Regions from separate parts of the Homo sapiens genome. Here region 2 is linked to region 1. The links are contacts of gene promoters, found by promoter capture Hi-C in blood cells and fetal thymus (Javierre and others, 2016). All regions are on one chromosome and are shown on one strand. Each heading gives the region's core, a stretch centred on a gene start or on the middle of the fragment in contact. The rest is flanking DNA. Distances are from core to core; before and after follow the strand shown.

What was found. Contacts are between HindIII fragments. The CHiCAGO score rates a contact against its expected background, and 5 or more counts as called.
Region 2: a fragment that was not itself captured here is called in contact with the fragment with the promoter of WDR53 in region 1 in 2 of 17 cell types (M1 macrophages and M2 macrophages); the score reaches 5.8 in M1 macrophages.

The regions. Positions count from the first base shown.
Region 1 is chr3:196,566,694-196,570,387 of GRCh38, reverse strand. It overlaps WDR53 (WD repeat domain 53), which reads left to right and starts at 1,834. Exons shown (of 4, transcript NM_182627.3): 1 at 1,834-1,869; 2 at 3,081-3,511. It overlaps FBXO45 (F-box protein 45), which reads right to left and starts at 1,728. Exons shown (of 3, transcript NM_001105573.2): 1 at 1,086-1,728. The coding sequence starts at 1,403. RefSeq lists enhancers at 1-475, 2,493-3,692 and silencers at 816-1,110, 1,232-1,771. The HindIII fragment of the contact is 1,918 bases long and covers 999-2,916 here.
Region 2 is chr3:196,787,983-196,791,676 of GRCh38, reverse strand. All of the region lies in intron 2 of PAK2 (p21 (RAC1) activated kinase 2), which reads right to left. Among named protein-coding and RNA genes, the nearest start is that of PAK2, 50 kb to the right of the region's middle. The HindIII fragment of the contact is 1,540 bases long and covers 915-2,454 here.

The DNA.
Region 1 (3,694 bases), core at 585-3,084:
CGCATGCCTGTAATCCCAGCTACTCGGGAGGCTGAGGCAAGACAATTGCTTGAACCTGGAAGGCGGAGGTTGCGGTGAGCCGAGATCACGCCATTGCACTCCGTCTCAAAAAAAAAAAAAAAGGGGGGGATGTTATCGTTTTAGTTACTAATGCATTCATTATGTTTAACACATTGCAATCAGACTTTATCTTCTCTTATATATGATCTTGATTGACTGCTATACTGAATAGCTGTTAACCATTCAACTCAACTCAAGACCAAGACCCTTTGTTTATTCGGCCTGAGAGTCCTTTCAGCCGTACCACAACTTGTTCCTTGACATTTTTATTTTGTATATGAAGGCGGGCGGAATATGCAGGAAGGATGCAGCGAAACTGTAATCAGCACGTTAGATGACAAATAGAAAAAGAGAGACACCATCAATGTGGAACTATTAAAAAGTTAGCAAGGAAACAGCCAATAACAGCAGGACAAAGCAGTATGTTAGGTGGTGCCCGTGGACGTTCTATAAAAGCCTGTATCTTGTAAGTGAGCAGGATGACTAGAACTACACTCACTTGTAAGCCTCCAATATAGTGGAGGGAACTAAAGAGAACTTGGGGGAAAATAATGAAAACAAATGGTTAAAAATCAGAGCTTGGAAAAGATGAGATAAACGTGGAGTGAAAGCAAACTAGAAACTTAGAAACTTAGAAACTAAGCCCATGTTAAGGTGGCCGGGATTATTTAATATAATGAAGTCTATCTGGAGGCCGGGGAGAAAAGTAGGATGAGGGCATTAAAAGGTACAAGAGTGGTGGTCTGTCTTTAACGGGGAAAACTGTCAAAAGTTGAATGAGTGAGGCAAACTACCTAGTTGTTTGAAAAGTGGATCACGGAAGTGGGATGGGTTAAGGAGCAGAACTTCGATCCAAAGAAAAGAGAATCTTTATCTTGGGGGGAGGTGAGGAAGATACTGACTGGAGCCGTGGAAAGGCGGGCTGGTGAGGCGAAGCTTCTGACTCAGAAGCTCGGATGAGAAACACCGCGAACGACGCCGGGGAGCGGGACTGGGGGCAGCGGTGTGGCCCGGGGCTCTCTCACCTTGGCCTTGTAGCTGGGCAGGTTGCACAGGATGTCCGTGCGCAGAGCCTCTTCTGCCAGGCTGCGGGCGCACAGGCTCCGCCACACCTCGCTGTTCTCATCGCCGTGCAGGCAGCGGTACCAGTGCTTGCACACCAGGGCGCAGCTCCGCAGCTCGGACAGCTCCAGGTAAGAGAACACCAACTCCAGCACCCGGCTGGGCAGCCGGCCCCCGGCCCCCGCGGCCCCAGAGCCCGAGCCCGCGCCCGCGCCCGCGCCGCCGCCGCTACAGCCAGCGCCGCCCGAGGCTGCCCCAGCCCCCGGGGCCGGCGCCGCCATCGCCTCACCAGCCGGCCCTAGGGCCGCCGCTGCCGCCGCCGCTTCCCGCCGTCTCTGCTCGGAAGGCCAAGCCTCGCCCGGAGACCGGAGCGGCTCGCTCACCGCCCCTGTCAGTGCCAACCGCCGGCGCCTCCACCACTCCCGCCCCTGCCCGGGGGCGTCCGCCGCGCGCCCCGCCTCACTGAGGGCAGACGCACCGGCTGCAGGGGCGTCCTCCGCCCCTCCTCCGCGGCTCAGCGCGGGCGCCGAAACCGCCCGACTCGCCCGGCCTCTCCGCGGCGCGCCAGCGGCTCCGCCATGCGGGTTGAGGGCACGAAGCAAGGGCGCACGCCCAGCTCGTTCGCGGTTCCTCTCGGCCCCGGATGTGACTGTTTGGCTGCGCCGCCTCACGCCTGACGCTCGACGGGATTGGGCGCCGGCGGGTGAGGTTATCACTAGGCGCCGAGGAGGGGAGCGGGAAGCGCAGGTATGAGGCTGGCGCCGGTGGCTTCGATGCTGCTTTCCGGTGACTTCGATGCTGTTTTCCAGTGCTTTTTCCTTTTTCTGGTCTGGTGGCTCCGCGTCTGCTCTCCTGGGCTCCCTTTCCTGTGACGTTTCCCTGTGTCCGTTAGGTCCTTGCTTCAGACTCCAGCTCAACGCATGAAACTTTTCTCTCCTTGCTTGCCGGGTCCTGGCTCCCCAACCTTTTTGTGTAGCTTGGGCAGCGGAGGCCGTCTTTACCTGGTCAGGCCCTCTCGTTCTCCCTAAGTATCGGCACTTAGCGAACGTCTGTCCCTGTGTGCCTTCGCAAAGTAAGGTGGCTGCGACTGAACACCCCCTCGCCCAAACGTTCGAGTGCCATTTGAGCGCTAATTAAGTGCTGCCGTCTTTTGGACAAGATGTGGTCTTTACTGGATCCACCGCTTAGTAAGCAGATGAAGGCAATGTAGTTTTAGTCAATTAAACATTCCAATAGGGAGAATGACGTGGAGGCTATAATTATAGATGGATTCTTGGAAGGGGAAGAATTTCAGCATCCCAGCTTGGGCAACATTGCGAGGCAGTGTCGCTACAAAAAAATAGAAAAATTAGCCGAGGGTGGTGGCGTGCGCCTCTGGTCCCAGCTACTTGGGAGGCTGAGCCCGGGAGGTCGAGGCTGAGGTGAACCGTAATCGCCCTGCTGTGCTCCAGCCTGGGCGACAGAGTGAGCCCCTACCTCACACACACACACACACACACACACACACACACACAAGAATTTCAGCATTATTTGATTATACTACGATTTCCTAGGTGGCCCCAAAGTTTTCCGACAGCCTTTAAAGCATGCTTAGTAAGAGAATAATAATAACCATCATTTGAGCCACGGTGTGAACCAGGCACTGTATACTACGTCATTTACGCAGATTTTTATATACGTAATCCTCAAAACAACTCCATGAGCTGAGTAATTAAAATAATAGGGTTCACAGACTCCCTTGGTCAACTCCAATGTCTTGGAACCTTTATGTAGTAAGAAATCTTTTCTGAAGCTTCTTGCTATGTATAATCCATTTCTTAGTCTCTAGTAAAAGCAAAGGAACGGTGGCTACCTTCCCTACCCTCTGATTCATGGTGTTTGATTATTATTTGCCTGTCCCTTCTCCTCATGTCTTTTTCACCAAGTCCAGTAACCCTAATTCTTTTCATTCTTACCAGTGCCAGCGCCACAGCCCTTCAATCATTTTGGTTGCTATCCAGCTTCTCCACATCAAGTCCAACTTCAGAAACCCCAAGCCTGTAGAGAAAAGTTGACCTGTGCTGACTCTGGTGATGGTGACTGTCTCTCACTAATTTCTTTGAAGTCTTCAAGGATAAGCAGAGTTGATCCATCTGAGAAAGGGATCATGAACTAGACAGAATGAACAGCCTTAGAGGCACAGACTCTTGAACGGGACGGTGGTGGTATGACTAGTGCAGAGTGTTTAGAGATCACTCAGTTTTTAAAGACTGGCCTTTATCGTGTCTCAGTGCAGCCGAGGCAGAGCCTTTGAAGGATGCGATGTTGTCATTCTTACTAATCTAGTCCAGCCGCTGAGGTGACTTTCAACGGCAGACCGTCTCCTGAGCGCCCCAGGTAGAATTTCAAAGTAAGATTACCCTTCTCAACCCCTCCTTTTCTTTTTTACAAATCTTTCACCTGCTCATCACCCACCCCACCAAGCCCCTTCCCCATGTTCAGTACTCTCATTCTGCGCTCTGGCTGATGAGAACTGCCGGCTGTGGCACTTCACCCTTTTAAAAAATGCTCTCGGCCGGGTGCCGTGGCTCAC
Region 2 (3,694 bases), core at 435-2,934, 220 kb before region 1:
CTGGGATTACAGGCGTGAGCCACCACGCCCGGCCCAGGAATTATATTTCTTAACACATAAAGAAAAAACATTCTGAAATAAGAAATATAAAATAAGAAAAAAATATAAAAAGAAGGGTGAGAGATAACATATCTAGCAAGAGTATTCCTGGTTCCTGTTGTGTCTAAGGCCTAGTCATATTCTTCAACTTGGAAACGTTAAGAGTTTAGAGAAATATATTAAAGTTTCATATATGATAGGAGTATAGAGTAAAAAGTTAAAGGAAAAACACAAAAACGATTAAGCAGAACTTGAGATAGAGCCACATTAGATCATTCAAAATAAACATAAAATCCTAAAAATCTGTTCAATGCCATTTGTTTTTACATAACACACATACAGGTACTCTCTGTATTTTAATAGTCTCAATGGGAAAAGGAAAGGATATTAGAAACAGTGTCTAAAACAAAAAGATACTAAAGCATGTCTGGAATTGAACAATGTGCTGGAAAGATATTGCTATACCAACAGAATGTCTTTAATACTCTTATATAACGACTCTAGAAGCCCAGAAATAGAGGGCCAATCACAATAAATTTATGTAGATGTGGGGGTTCAGTCAGGATGGCAGAAGAAATTATAGGAATAGAAAAAAGCAAACCTGCTTGGAAGGCCGGGGAGTTTTGCATAGCTTCAAAGTTTGGCTGAAGGTAGCCAGATTCTCTTTTCAGGAGCCAGAGAGCTTAAGGTACAGATACAAAGGAATATAAAGTAGTTTATCTAAAGAGCTTGTTTACTCATGTGGTCCTAAGACTAACCTTTGATCATTGGTGGGCAAGATGGCCCTCTCCAGGGTGGGGGCGACCAGGTGAATTACCCACAGGTGTGTTGACTCAAGCCTTTGTCAATTAATCTATACTAAATAAATGCAAGCTTCCTTGGCTAGTTGAGGCCGATGGTTGCAACGCTTTACAGCACTCTCCTGGGAGTCTGTAAGTGGCCCGGACTCTCAGCTGGACTGACAAGCATAACATCTGTGTCAGTGTAAGTTATTCATCCGTCATTGGGTCAGGGTCTGCGGGACGGACCCCTACATGTTACACCTTAGCTTTGGAGAAATCTGAAATCTGTTCATGTTTCATAAAATGAAAGGAGGTCAACTTCCCACTTCTGCTTATCAAACACAACCATCTACGGGAGGTTCACCAGGCAACCAGATCACTTGATGGGAAGTAATAGACCAGGGCAAAAAACTTATTTTAATAAAATAAACAATTTAACTAGTGTCCTAGGAGAAAAAAAGATTCTTAGAATCATTTTCCAACTTCATTAGACAACAAAACAGCAGCAGCAGGCAGGCAGCAACCTTCAGCCAAGAGGCAGAGACCCTGAGTCACATGTTGACAAAAGGTACTGAAAAGAATCCTAAGTAGGCTACTGTCACATTCTCTAGGGCACTACCTTTTAGACTGCTTTCAAGCTACATCTAAGGCTAAACAAACAAATAAAAGAAACCCTTTATCTGTTTAAAAGGAAGACTCTTCTGTTTCTAGTCTAACCATAAGTAATTCCTCCTTTGTTCTTTTGATGTGTAATAGCTTCAAATTCCATGACACAGCAGAGAATTCTCTAGGAAAGGTGTCCCCAGCCCCAGGGCCGTGGACCAGTACAGGTCCATGGCCGGTTAGGAACTGGGTGGCACAGCAGGAGGTGAGCAGTGGGGAGTGAGCACCACCGCCTGAGCGCCACCTCCTGTCAGATCAGTGGCAGCATTAGATCCCCATAGGAGCGCAAACCCTATTGTGAACTGCGCATGAGAGGGATCTAGGCTGCACACTCCTTATGAGAATCTAACTAATGTCTGATGATCTGAGGTGGAAGAGTTTCATACCGAAACCACCCCCCCGTCAGCCCCACAGAAAAATTGTTTTCCGGCCAGGCACGGTGGCTCACGCCTGTAATCCCGGCACTTTGGGAGGCTGAGGTGAGCAGATCACCTGAGGTCAGGAGTTCGAGACCAGCCTGGTCAACATGGTGAAACCCTGTCTCTACTAAAAATACAAAAAAATTAGCTGGGCGTGGTGGCGTGCACCTCTAGTCCCAGCTACTCGGGAGGCTGAGGCAGGGGAATTGCTTGTACCCAGGAGGCGGAGGTTGCAGTGAGCTGAGACCACGCCATTGCATTCCAGCCTGGGCAACAAGATGAAACAAAAAAGAAAAAAGAAAAATTGTTTTCCATGAAACCATTACCCCAGTGTCAAAAAGGTTGGGGACCACTCCTCTAGGAAATAGGCAGAGAAGTATGGGTTACTATTATTAATCTCAGAATTCATTTTTTTAATCAGAAAGGTTGTTTACAGATCTAAGTCATAACCAACCAGAAGTGAAGGTGCTTATAGGTTGAATAGCTAGATGTGAAAATTGCTTTAGTTAATAAAGACAATACCATCCAACTCTAGCTGTATGAATAAAGCTTATTTTAAAAAGTCAAATGGCTCACTGACATTTTCATTATTTAAACTAGTAGACTAGTTAGGCCATTTCTCACTTGGGCTACAGCAAAAGCCTCCTAACTAGTTTCCAACTTCACTCTCACACTTCGAACAAAACCTTTTTTCTATATACCTACCATTCTCTCCTAACTAAAACAGAGAGATGGCCAGGTCTTTCCCCTGATTAAAAATCTGTAATGGTTCCCCAGGAAACAGGATAAAATGTGAGCTCTGTAGCATAGAATACAAGGCCCTTTATGACCTGGTCACTGCCTACCTCTTCAGCCTCTTCTGCTGTCTGTAGTGCCTACATACACCCTGCTGTAATTCTCTGTCCTTCCCTCTCTGCTTTCCAGTAACACCGGGCGGCACTCAGCTCCATGGATGTGCTCTGATCCCTCCTGTAGGTGGGCCACTGAAACAGGCTCTTCCCGGGCATGGAACACACTTTGTAACTATCGTTTCCCTTACCCATCCTGCAGTCTTCAGCTCTATTATGACCTCCTTAGGAAGCCTTCCCAGACACTGCAGATTGGACACATGTTGTGCACTGCCTCTGTACCACTTTTCATGGCTTGTAATTCTATACCATGGTTTGAGATTGCTGTCGTGGGAGCAGGGACACTATCTGCTTTATCACTCATCTCTGATTATTCACATAGTACACACATTAGCAAGCATGGAAAAAAGATCTGTTCTGTCAAGTTGCCTTAAAACGGCACGATCCAAAAGGATAATTTTCGAGTTTTTTGGTGATACCAATTAAAACCAGTAATTAATAAGTGAAAACATCCTAGAGTCTTTATTTTCTTTTTATAAAAATATTAGCTGTTTTTTTAGTAAGGAAAGCAGTAAGGGATGTAAATTTTTTAGTGGAATAAAATGAATTATCTCTAGATCAGGCCTTACATTAGAGATGGCAAAAGTCTTAAGGTCATTATGATTTTTAAAAAATGGAAATACAATTGTTTGCCTTTTAGACTCTTCTGTTTCAAGATGATGTACTGAGCACATACTGAAGTTCTCTCCCTTCTACACCAAAACCGAGTGTTTCACAGAATAAAATCCACGAGGAATGCTCCAGAATGAAAAGCAATTAGCATAAGACTAGCGAGAGAAGCAGCAGTTAGGATGTCAGTGGGAAAATGCTTCTGCAAACTGCTGCAGGTGGCTGAAACTAGAAGCAAGGTGGGTGGAAATGAGCGGACCCAGAGGCAACCACT